Regions from separate parts of the Homo sapiens genome. Here regions 1 and 3 are each linked to region 2. The links are contacts of gene promoters, found by promoter capture Hi-C in human tissues and cell types (Jung and others, 2019). All regions are on one chromosome and are shown on one strand. The core of a region is centred on a gene start or on the middle of the fragment in contact, and the rest is flanking DNA. Distances in the headings are between cores, read along the strand shown. Region 1 holds the start of CDK11B (cyclin dependent kinase 11B). Region 2 holds the start of ATAD3A (ATPase family AAA domain containing 3A). Region 3 holds the start of SCNN1D (sodium channel epithelial 1 subunit delta).

Region 1 (3,993 bases), core at 1-2,500, 150 kb after region 2:
CCCAGTGTGGTGGCGCGTGCCTGTATTCCTAGCTACAGGAAGGAGGCTGCTAGAGGCAGGAGGATCACTTGAATCAGAGAGGTCAAGGCTGCAATGAGCCAAGACTGCGCCACTGCACTCCAGCCTAGATAACAAAGTAAGACTTGGTTAAAAAAAAAAAAAAAAAAAAAAAAGTAAGCTCTAGGCTGAGGCGGGTGGATCACAAGGTCAGGAGGTCAAGACCAGCCTGGCCAACACGGCGAAAACCCTGTCTCCACTAAAAATACAAAACTTAGCTGGGCGTGGTGGCGGGTGCCTGTAATCCCAGCTACTCGGGAGGCCGAGGCAGCAGAATCGCTTGAATCCGAAAGGCGGAGGTTCCGGTGAGCCGAGGTCGCGTCACTGCACTCCAGCAAGACCCCGTCTCAAAAAAAAAAGAAAAAAAAACAAGAATGATAAGTTGTAAGCCAGGCAAGGTGGCGAGCGCCTGTAGTCCCATATACTCTGCAAGCTGAGATGGGAGACCGATTGAGCCCAGGAGTTCCAGGCTGAAGTGCGCTTGTGAACAGCCACTGCGCTGCAGCATGGGCGACAAAAAAGAGTGATGGGTTCTGAAAAATGACCGCTTGAAATCAAGTCTCGTTTCTGTCATTCTTGTATGGTCTTGGGTAACGTAATTCACCTCAGTTTAGTCTTCCGTACAACCAGAATAACAACACCTACGTGATAGTATCGATCGCGGATTAAAGATCATCCGTTTAAAGGCTCTTAACTCAGGACCTGCCACTCATCAAACACTGCTTTTACTGTCAGAATCTGCTAGAAAGACCGCTTGGACTACGTGAAGCCACTAGCACACTGGACAGCTGCACCTTGAGACCGGGGAGATGCTCCGAGATGTGCTCGCGAACAAGGCCACCTGACCCGGGCACTGGGCTATTTCCTCGGGTTCAGTCCCGCACACTTGAGGTTCAGCCTGGCAGACGTTGGCTCCAGACAGCGTTTGGACCCGCCGCCTCCACCACCCAAAGTTCCGTGCGGGATGAGACTGTCCGCGGAAGCGAGGGTGTCGCTCGCCCCCGGGCCCGGGTCCGCCCCGCTCCGAGGCCTGCTCGGAAGAAAGACCTCGGTGCGCAGTTCTCCTCGCGCTCCCACACCTGGTCCGCCCAGTCGGAACTCACCCCTACGCCGCCGCCGCTGCCGCCGCCGCCGCCGCCGGTCCCGGAGCCAGAGAAGAAACAGCAACCGGCGCGCGCCAAAAGTATCGTCACTTCCTGTATTGGCGCGTAATGATGATATAATAGCCGACCTCCGGCCCAGAACTCGAGACAACGACAGGGGCTCGCTCTGTGCGGCACTTCCTGTGTCTGCGCGGGATGATAACGCATAAAACAGCGCTTGCTCAGGTCCAGGACGCCAGAAGAAACAGCCCGGTGAGCGCACTTCCGACTTCGGCGCGGGCTGTGACGCAGGAATCGGGACTCCGGAGGAGCGACGCCCACTTTTGGAGCAGTTTGCGCCTGCGCGGAACGCGTGGCCGGCTTCCGGAATCCTACCGGGACTTTTCCGGTAGCGAAGCCCGCGCCTGTGCCAAGGCTTGCGAGCAGAATGCCTTCGCGATGGACGCCCGCATTCCACCCCCTTGACCGCTGGGACCCCTAGTGGCGGGTGGGTGGAGCGCGCTCCATTTACCTGCTGGTTACCTCGTGAGGCGCCTCAGGTCTGTGTGTCTTGTAAAGGCCGATCTCGGAATTTAACTCTGAACCTTACTCAGAAACAGGGCAGGGAGAGCTCTTACGATGTGATTTTATTTTATTTATTCATGTATTTACTTTTGAGTCGGAGCCTTGCTCTGCCGCCCAGGTTGGAGTGCAGTGGCGTGGTCTTGGCTCACTGCAGCCTCCTCCCGGGTTCAAGGAATTTTCCTGCCTCAGCCTCCCGAGTAGCTGGAACCACAGGCCCGCGCCACCACGCCCGGCTAATTTTTATATTTTTGGTAGAGACGAGGTTTCGCCATATTGGCCAGGCTGGTCTCGAACTCCTGACCTCAAGTGATCCGCCCGCTTCGTCCTCCTAAAGTGCTGGGATTACAGGCGTGAGCCACCGCGCCCGGCCTTTTACAATGTGATTTTGAAGCTGACACTGGCAGTGGGTCCTCAAAGTGCAGACTCACTGGGTATGGTGCTTCCCCCAACTCCCAGGGCCCCACTCCAAACCCATGGATTCAGAGCATTGCAGGAGAAGAGGATAAAACGAGCAATTAATTCCCTTTCCATATGTCAGGTTTTCCTCTTGACTTGAAAAGTCACAGAAAAATGCTTTAGACATCTGAATCTCAGGAAACAAACAATGGAAGATAAACATCCGCATTTACTGGGCCTGAAATGGGAAAATGAAAGATGTGGCAAGAAACTGACAAGGGCCCAAGAAGGGCGATGGGTATCGGAATTTTTTTCATCCCGGAATGAAATGCTGCTTGCTTTGTGTACCCAAGCTCTTTTTTTATTTTTATTTTTTTGAGACGGAGTCTCGCTCTGTTGCCCAGGCTGGAGTGCAGTGGCGCGATCTCGGGTCACTGGAAGCTCCGCCACCCGGGTTCACGCCATTCTCCCGCCTCCACTCCATTCGCCCGCATTAGGCTCCTGAGTACCTGTGACTACAGGCGCCTGCCACCATGCCCGGCTAATTTTTTTTTTATTTTGGGTAGAGACGGGGTTTTACCGTGTTAGCCAGGATGGTCTCAATCTCCTGACCTCGTGATCAGCCTGCCTCTGCCTCCCAAAGTGCTGGGATTACAGGCGTGAGCCACCGCGCCTGGCCTCCCCCAAGCTCTTAATGTTGCTTCCTGAGTTCTTGGTAACTGGGGAAATCTCCCTATTTTTTTATTTTTATTTTTTTTTGAGACGGAGTCTTGCTCTGTCGCCCAGGCTGGAGTGCAGTGGCGCAATCTCGGCTCACTGCAAGCCCCACCTCCCGGGTTCAACGCCATTATCCTGCGAGCCTCAGCCTCCCGAGTAGCTGGGACTACAGGCGTCCACCACTACGCCCGGCTAATTTTTTTGTGTTTTTAGTTGAGATGGGGTTTCACTGTATTAGCCAGGATGGTCTTGATCTCATGACCTTGTGATCTGCCTGCCTTGGCCTCCCAAAGGGTTGGGATTACAGGCGTGAGCCACAGCACGTTTTTTTCTGTTTTGAGAAAAAGTCTCGCTGTGTCACCCAGGCTGGAGTGCAGTGGCACAATTTTGGGTAACTGCAGCCTCCGCCTCCTGGGTACAAGTGATTCTCCTGCCTCAGCCTCCCGAGTAGCTGGGATTATAGGCGTGCGCCACCACACCTGGCTAACTTTTGTATTTTTAGTAGCGACAGGATTTTGCCATGTTGGCCAGGCTGGTCTTGAACTCCTGACCTAAAGTATCTGCCCACCAGCCTCCCACAGTGCTGAAATTATAGTCATGAGCCACCGTGCCCGGCCAAAAATCTCCAGTTTACCCTTCCTTTGTGAAATCTGTGAGTACCCAAATGCAGCCACTCATGTCAAACCCTAACAAAATCGACCCCAGAGCCCACGAGGAGGGGGTGGCCTCGCACTTGCGCTTGATAGGAGCTGCCACAAAGGCCTTTCCCAACCAGAACTTTGGGTTCAGCCACTTCTGTGAAGAGCCTCTTTGCTAGCAACAGCCAGCCCCACCGGTGAACAAAGTAGCATGAACACCAGAGTTCCACAAGGAAGAAAACAAAGCAGTCCATATTTAACATTTATTTTACTTTGCTGAGCAAGAATCATAGACAGCTACTACCACGGCTGCTTCGTTTGGACAAAAATAACGAGGAGGCATCCACGGGATTAGTTACACGGTATCAACTTACCACCACAGCAGAATCAACAGTGACTCGCTAATTAACAGAACCGTTTGCTAGAAAGCACTAATCTAGTTATATAAATACTGAAATAGGTCACATGCAAAACACTATAAACGTTTTGTGTGATGTACTTTTAGTTCTCCATAGTTT
Region 2 (3,987 bases), core at 1,029-3,528:
CTGGCCAACATGGTGAAACCCCATCTCTCCTAAAAAAAAAAAAAAAAAAATTAGCCGGCCGTGGTGGCAAGTGCCTGAAATCCCAGGTACTCAGGAGGCTGAGGCAGGAGAATCACTTGAGCCTGGGAAGTGGAGGTTGCACTGAGCTGAGACCATGGAATTGCACTGCAGCATGGGCAACAAGAGTCAAACTCCCTCTAAAAAAAAAAAAAAAAAAAAAAAGGGCCAGGTGGCACATGCCGGTGGTCCCAGCTTCTTGGCTTGGAGGCTGAGGTAGGAGGATCGCCTGAGCATGGGAGGCAGAGGTTGCAGTGAGCTGAGATCGCACCATTGCACTCCAGCCTGGGTGACAGAGTGAGACCCTCTCAATAAATAAATAACCAAAACCTTGATTACAGCCATGGGGTGGGGGTGGGGGGACGTCTGGCTATTGCTGGGGAAGTCATTTGGTTTTTCTCCTCCTCTCCTATTTTTTTGGTACAGACGGGGTCTCTCTTTGTTGCCCAGGCTGGTCTCCAACTCCTGGGCTCAAGCAATCCTCCTGCCTCGGCCTCCCAAACTGGCGGGGTTACAGGCGTGAGCCACCGCGCCTGCCCTGTTTTCTTTTTCTTTTTTTTTTCTTTTCTTTTTTTTTTGGCGATGGAGTCGTGCTCGCCCAGGGTGGAGTGCAGTGGCCTGATCTCGGCTCACTTCAACCTCCACCTCCAGGGTTCAAGCAGTTTTCCCGCCTAAGCCTCCGGAGTAGCTGGGATTACAGGCGCACGCCACCATGCCCAGGTTAATTTTTGTATTTTTGACAGGGGTTTCACCATGTTGGCCCGGCTGGTCTCAAACTCCTGTTTTCAGGTGATCTGCCCACCTCGGCCTCCCAAAGTGCTGGGATTACGGGTGTGAGCCACCGCGCCTGGCCGGCATTTTCTGGCTTTTTTTTTTTTTTTTGACAGAGTCTGACTCAGTCGCCCAGACTGGAGTGCAGTGACGAGATCTCGGCAGCTCACTGTGTTATATGTAAATTTTCTGTGCCGCCAAAGAAGTAGAACTCGAATATAAATTTTTCTCAGCTAGATAATTTACTTCTATAGAAGGGGACATCTCATAGATGGAGCAATGGCGAGCGCTTGGACAAGGGAGGGGAAGGGGTTCTTATTCCTGACGCGGGTAGCCCCTACTGCTGTGTGGTTCCCCTATTGGCTAGGGTTAGAATGCACAGTCTAAACTAGTGCCCATTGGCTATTTTAAAGGGAGCAGGAGTATGGGCCAGAGTGGCGGGGTGAGTGGTTTGGCGGGAAAAATGGTTATGGGACAGGTAACTAAAGGTGACTCAGGTCAAAGCAGGAGACCGGGATTAGTTAGGACGGAGCAGGTGACCAGGGCAACAGATGTCAACTACTGACTAGAACTGGTGGAAAAGGTTGTTTACTGAAACTGCGAGGAAGGTAGACTTTAAAATGCAGGACAAAGACTGAACATACTGATATACTGATTCTTTGAAGGGAAGTTTAGAACTCATTGTATCTAACATTATTCAGGCTTAAAACAGTTTCCAATCCAGTGGGAAAAGTCACTCCATATATTCCGTGAAGTCAACCAGTTCCATCAAGGAGAAAGTCAGGGCCGCTGGGAGCGCGTGGACCGTGGGCTCCGGGGCGGCGCCTGCCCGGGCACCCCGGCCCCGTCCACGCCCCGCAAGAGGAGCTCGCTGGCCCCGCCACGCGGGAAGGGGTCGCCCCGGGGTCTTGGGCGGGAGGGCCGTGCGGGCTGCGGAGACACCGAGGAGGGGAGGCGCCTCTCCTGAGCTCTTGGCGCAGCGACCCCAGGGCGCCGACTCATCGCGGAAGGGCTCGGCTTGCCCGGGCGCCGGTGCCGCCTCGGGTGAGGTTCCCGCGAGACTCTTCTCTGCGTCCTGGACTCACCGCAGGGCGCCCCGCCGCACGGATCGAGAACCTTGGGGCTCCCTGGAAACTTGCCACCCGCTGCCGCCAAGGCCGGAACTCCTCGGAGCCCCTAGCAACGGAGCCCCTAGCAACGGAGCCCACGCGGATGCGGCGCGGGGCTGACGCTGCCTTGGGTTCGCCTACGTCCCTCGGGAATTTTGTCCCGGCGTGGCTCCCGTAGCCAGATGCTTCGCCGCTCCCGCCCCGCTGGCTCCCAAAGCCTGTTCGGCAGTCGCGGCGCCGTCGCTATGGCGTCACTGTCCTCGGGGCCAATCCAAGGGCTGCGCGCGTGTCCCTTACGCGCTTCTATCGCCGGGAGGAAGGGGTGTGTGTGGCGCCTGCGCAGTGGCGGTGACCACCGGCTCGCGGCGCGTGGAGGCTGCTCCCAGCCGCGCGCGAGTCAGACTCGGGTGGGGGTCCCGGCGGCGGTAGCGGCGGCGGCGGTGCGAGCATGTCGTGGCTCTTCGGCATTAACAAGGGCCCCAAGGGTGAAGGCGCGGGGCCGCCGCCGCCTTTGCCGCCCGCGCAGCCCGGGGCCGAGGGCGGCGGGGACCGCGGGTTGGGAGACCGGCCGGCGCCCAAGGACAAATGGAGCAACTTCGACCCCACCGGCCTGGAGCGCGCCGCCAAGGCGGCGCGCGAGCTGGAGCACTCGCGTGAGTGCGGCGGGGCGGGGCGGCGCGGGCGGGCGGGCGGGACGGGCCGGGGAAGCGGGAGCCCTGGCCCTTGCCGCTCCTCGCCGCTGTCGGCAGCCACTTCCCGGGCGAGACTGCGCCCCCGGAGCACCCCCGGCCGGAGCCGTGTCGCGTGCCGGGAGGATCGGACTCTTTCCGTCACCCGTTTGCACCTCTGCAGCTGTCAGGAGCGGGTCAGGTGCGGAAAGCGGTGCGGAGGTGGCGCTCATAGGTTACAGGGGTCAGGGTCTGGGGCTGGCCGTGGTCTTCAGTTACCGCCGAGCGTGCGGGATCCTTCTGCGCTTGCCGCCTCCACGTGGCACAGGCCAAGGCGTGGCCAGATGGGTAGATGGGTTTGTTGGGTGGTTGCTAGCAGTTTCCACGTAACAAGGGAAGCGTATTTGAGAGTTACTTGATTCTAACGAGACTAGCAGATTTGCACTTCTTGTTGGAAGACGTTAGCATTTGCACGGCGAGGTCTGTGAAGCCACAGGCCAGGCCGTGCTGCTCAGCTTGAGTAAACCCCTGACCCAAGGCCCTCAGGGTGTGAGCACTCACCATGTTGTTCAGGCTGGTCTTGAATTCTGGCCTCAGGTGATTCGCCCACCTCGGCCTCCCAAAGCGCTGGGATGACAGGCGTGAGCCGCTGCTCATGGCCTTCCTCGGTAATTTTAACCATCAGGTTAGGATGGGAATCAAGGGCTGGACTTCAGGGCACCTCGGAGGACAGCGGATGTTGGTGACTGACTTTCTTGCTGCAGGCTTATTTGGAGGGTTCCTTTGTGTCCTAGTTCCTGGGGGTTTTCACCCGCTAACTTCACTTAGAGATTGAAACTTCTCCCACTTCCAGAAGCTGAATCGTAGTGATCAGCCTGCGGCCCCCTGCAGTGGTACAGGCCTGGTTGAGCAGCCTCAGGCCGCCTCCCCATAGTGCAGACCTGTGCCTCTGAGTTGCTCCAGTCCTGGCGGCCCCGGAGCTCCTGACCCGCAGTCCGCTCTGCCGGCGTTGCCAGTGCCTTGGTCTGCCCTCTCTGTGGTGGAGCGGGGCCCGGGGCAGGGTCTCCAGGTGCACCGTGGGGAGCCCTCCATCAGGCTTTTGTTTCCTGTGGATTGTGTTCCAGGTGTGGGCTCTTTCATTCTGATCCCTTCCCTCCTTCCTGGCCTCACTGCTGGCAGGTGAGAGAGGTTTCTCCAGAGTTGACTGCCCCCTTTCCCCGGGTGCCCCCTGCCCTGCCCCTCTGCCTGGTAGCCCCTCTGCAAGCCCGGCCCCTCCCGACGCTCCTGGCTTCCTCCGTGCCCCTTTCCTGGCAGCGGGTCGCCGAGATTCGGCCGGAGCCCATTGCTTTGTCCTTGCTGCTCTCCAGGCAAACGGGCGGCTC
Region 3 (3,861 bases), core at 867-3,366, 230 kb before region 2:
AATCGTTTGAACCCAGGAGGCAGAGTTTGCAGTGCGCCGAGATCGCACCCCTGCACTCTAGCCTGGGCAACACAGTGAGACTCTACCTAAAAAAAACAAAAAGTGTAACAGCAGCTTTAAGGCAGGCAGCAAAGGAAACAGAGAGATAGAGAACTTAGGAACTCTATAGTTCTTTTTTTTTTTTTTTTTTGAAACAGAGTTTTGTTCTTGCAGCCCTGGCTGGGGTGCAATGGCACGATCTCAGCTCACTGCAACCTCCGCCTTCTAGATTCAAGCTATTCTCCTGCCTAAGCCTCCCAAGTAGCTGGGATTACAGGTGCATGCCACCACGCTCGGCTCATTTTTGTATTTTTAGTAGTGATGGGGTTTCACTCTGTCGGTCAGGCTGGTCTCGAACTCCTGACCTCAGGTGATCCGCCCGCCTTGGCCTCCAAAAGTGCTGGGATTACAGGCGTGAGCCACTGCGCCTGGCCAGGAACTCTATGGTTCTGTAGTTGCAGGCTGACCTTTGGGCTCTGAATTTTTCCTGGATGGAATTTGCCCATCAGTTTAAAATGTGCCCCAAAAGACCATAATATGGAACCAGCTGGGGCACTAGGAAACCCAGCATGCCCGCGACATGTTCAGTTTTATACCAACACTTGCAGGTAGAGGCGCCTGAAACCAGCGGGGTGCCTGGAAGGAGGTCGCCCTCTTGTCTTTGCTGAGGCTTACATTATTTATTTCCCACTTTTTTTTTTCTTGAAAGGAACCGAGCTGTGGCCTGGGGTTCCATGGAGCAGGTGGGGCGCGGAGGAACTGAGCTGTGGCCTGGGGTTCCGTGGAGCAGGTTGAGTATGGAGGAACTGGGGTTCCGTGGAGCAGGTGGGGCGCAGAGGAACCGAGCTGTGGAATGGGGTTCCGTGGAGCAGGTTGAGTGTGCCGGTCGTGGACGGGTCGTGGGCGGGACTCCCCAGTGTGTCACCACTGAGGCATCTTCGCCCTCTTACGTGTCTCTGTTTCTCTCTCTAGAAGTCCAACACCTCCGAGAGGACTCAAAACACAGAGTGACCAGCTCCTATGTGCATTTCCTGGACAAACCTTTTTTTTTTTTTTTTTTTTGAGACGGAGTCTCGCTCTGTCGCCCAGGCTGGAGTGCAGTGGCACGATCTCGGCTCACTGCAAGCTCTGCCTCCCGGGTTCACGCCATTCTCCCGCCTCAGCCTCCCAAGTAGCTGGGACTACAGGCTCCCGCCACAATGCCCGGCTAATTTTTTGTGTTTTTAGCAGAGACGAGGTTTCACCGTGTTAGCCAGGATGGTCTCGATCACCTGACCTCGTGATCCACCCGCCTCGGCCTCCCAAAGTGCTGGGATTACAGGCGTGAGCCACTGCACCCAGCAGACAAACCTTTTTAAACTAATTGTGTTGGGGGGTTCCCTGTGGGGCTGCTGCACGTCGTGGGGGATCAGCCCACGAGATACTCCCACTTGGCTCACAGTCACCCAGGGGCGCCTTTCAGCTGGGAGGAGCAAAATGCCTTTCTTTCTGGAGCTGAGAAAACTCAGTCTCTCATTTATCTATGCAAAGAACAATTCAGTTCCTCATGCAAATGCACGCACAAGCCAGTTGGGCTTAATTTTGGGAGAAAAAGCAACAGAGAAGACCCTTAGGAACGCACGTCCGAGCTAGAAACCAAATGGGGTACCCAAAAGGGAGTCGTTCTCCTTGTCTTAAGAAAAAGGTGGCCGGGCGCAGTGGTTCACACCCGTAATCTCAGCACTTTGGGAGGCCGAGGCAGGCGGATCACCAGGTCAAGAGATCAAGACCAGCCTGGCCAATATGGTGAAACCCCATCTCTACTAAAAAAATATACAAAAATTAGGCTGGGCGCAGTGGCTTATGCCTGTAATCCCAGCACTTTGGGAGGCCGAGGTGGGCGGATCACGAGGTCAGGAGATCGAGACCATCCTGGCTAACACGGTGAAACCCCGTCTCTACTAAAAATACAGAAAATTAGCCAGACGTGGTGGCGGGCGCCTGTAGTCCCAGGTACTCAGGAGGCTGAGGCAGGAGAATGGCGTGAACCCGGGGGGCGGAGCCTGCAGTGAGCCGAGATCGCGCCACTGCCCTCCAGCCTGGGCGACAGCGAGACTCCATCTCAATAAATAAAAAAAAAAAAGAGTTGTTATCAGTAGAAGGGAATGTCTGGTTACAGTATGGCGTTGTGCAGATGAAGGTCTTATCGCAGATGAAGCCACCAGGTCACAAGCCTCAGAGAGAATCAACTATAAATGCTTCTCATCAGACTCAAGGCCTGAGGTGATGCTGATGCTGTGCCTGAATTCCAGCAGGGAGGAGGCATGAGGTGCGTCCGACTCCCTTCCCATCACAGCTGAGCTAGTTTTTCAGGTTAACTTTGGAATGCCCATGGCTAAGACCAGGGGTCCATCCAGACAGTTCAGGGCTTATAATTTTATTTTTGGTTTATGAGGGAACCTAGAAGGCAGCCCACACGCACCTTACTCCTCCCAGCAGGGGACACCGGCCAGACCCCAAGCTCCACACTCCCACCCTCAGCACCCACCCAGGCCAGCAGCCGGGGGCACCTTGGTGCCACCTTAGTGCCTGTTCTGCGGAGGCTCCACTGGACAGTGCAGTTGATGCCCGGGGCCGAGGGGGCTCTGCCTGGGAGGCTGTTCACCTGCCTGGGTGCAGGACCCCAGAGGGACCCCAGGCCACCCCTGGCCTGCCCATGCCCACGGGAATCCCGACCTTGGGCTGCCTGTCTATTGCACCAGAACCGTCCCAGGGCTGACTCAGAGTGACCCTGAGTGGGGGACGCTCACCCCAGGGGAGGAAACGGGGCTCTGGGATAGGAGGTCCTGGCTGGGGTCCCACAGATGCCAGGCGCCTGCCATCTCCAGGGCAGTGCTGTCACAGAAGACAACACCGCTCCCTCGTTACCTGTGGCCCGGCCACCTCAGCGGCCCAAGGAGGTGAGCTCACAGCCATGCTCGGTCAATGGGGCCTGGCCGTCTTTCCTGGGAGAGAGCAGAGGCATGGGCCCAAAGGGAGCCAGGGATGCCTGCCCGTCCCTTCTCTCATTCAGGCTCACCTGGTCATGGTGCAGTGACCACAGGACCCCCACATGCCGGGAGCTGGGTTCGCCCCACCCCACCCCCTGCACCGGGCCAGCGAGGGGATGGCCCAGAAGAGGGGGAGGACCATGTGGATTCACCAGTGCTGGACATGTGCTCTGTGGCTACCCCCTCTGCCTACTCTCTGGCCCGATACAGGGGTGTGGGACAGGTGACTGAACCTCAGCCCTTAGAGGCCTTGCCCGGGAGGAGGGGAGGGGGGTGGAGCCGGGAGCTGCGTGATCCAGCCGAGATGTGCTCTGACTGAGGCCCTGCAGGGCATACGGGTCATGGAAGGGGTGCTCTGCCCCCGGCCAGGGCTCCCCCTCCTACAGGAAGCCGGGGGCCTTGCTCCTGCAAGCTGCCCTTTGGCTGGACCGGGCCCCACTGGCCGGACCTGGGCTCTTTCTCTCTCTGCACCCTGCACCAAGGCTGGGCTGTCTGCCAGGCCACTCCCGGGGACACAGGGAGGCACAGGCTGCTTCCAGCCACAATCTCTGGCAAGCACCTAGGACCTTGTCCCCGCCTGCCAAGTAGCCGCCCGGGCCATGTGTGCCCTGTCTCCTCGGCAGGTGCGGCCCACGCACAAAGCTGCCCAGATGTGGTGGGGGAGAAGCCCCAGGCCTGTGCTGTGTCCGGGGGCCCTGCCGCTGACCTGTGGGGTCTCTGTGACATCAGCAAGCCCCCTGCCGCGAGCTTGGAGAGGCACCCCAGCCCCATCTGGCACTCAAGGAAATCAGCT

What was found. The method cuts DNA at HindIII sites, captures the fragments that hold promoters and counts their contacts. A contact is called where the count stands out against the background at its distance.
Region 1: the fragment with the promoter of CDK11B here is called in contact with the fragment with the promoter of ATAD3A in region 2 in 5 of the 25 tissues and cell types used here (adrenal gland, dorsolateral prefrontal cortex, heart left ventricle and 2 more).
Region 3: the fragment with the promoter of SCNN1D here is called in contact with the fragment with the promoter of ATAD3A in region 2 in 1 of the 25 tissues and cell types used here (lymphoblastoid cells).

Annotation. Positions count from the first base shown.
Region 1 is chr1:1,657,754-1,661,746 of GRCh38, forward strand. CDK11B (cyclin dependent kinase 11B) reads right to left here and starts at 1,251. Exons shown (of 20, transcript NM_033486.3): 1 at 1,161-1,251. SLC35E2B (solute carrier family 35 member E2B) reads right to left here. Exons shown (of 10, transcript NM_001290264.2): 10 at 3,725-3,993. RefSeq lists enhancers at 1,094-1,816, 1,248-1,337, 1,358-1,637. The HindIII fragment of the contact is 36,520 bases long and covers 1-3,993 here.
Region 2 is chr1:1,509,884-1,513,870 of GRCh38, forward strand. It overlaps ATAD3A (ATPase family AAA domain containing 3A), which reads left to right and starts at 2,279. Exons shown (of 16, transcript NM_001170535.3): 1 at 2,279-2,590. The coding sequence starts at 2,386. RefSeq lists silencers at 1,587-1,786, 2,237-2,396 and an enhancer at 2,027-2,086. The HindIII fragment of the contact is 15,639 bases long and covers 1-3,987 here.
Region 3 is chr1:1,278,320-1,282,180 of GRCh38, forward strand. It overlaps SCNN1D (sodium channel epithelial 1 subunit delta), which reads left to right and starts at 2,117. Exons shown (of 18, transcript NM_001130413.4): 1 at 2,117-2,347; 2 at 2,907-2,978; 3 at 3,092-3,291. The coding sequence starts at 2,343. It overlaps LINC01786 (long intergenic non-protein coding RNA 1786), which reads left to right. Exons shown (of 3, transcript NR_185846.1): 3 at 749-2,288. The HindIII fragment of the contact is 6,841 bases long and covers 1-2,799 here.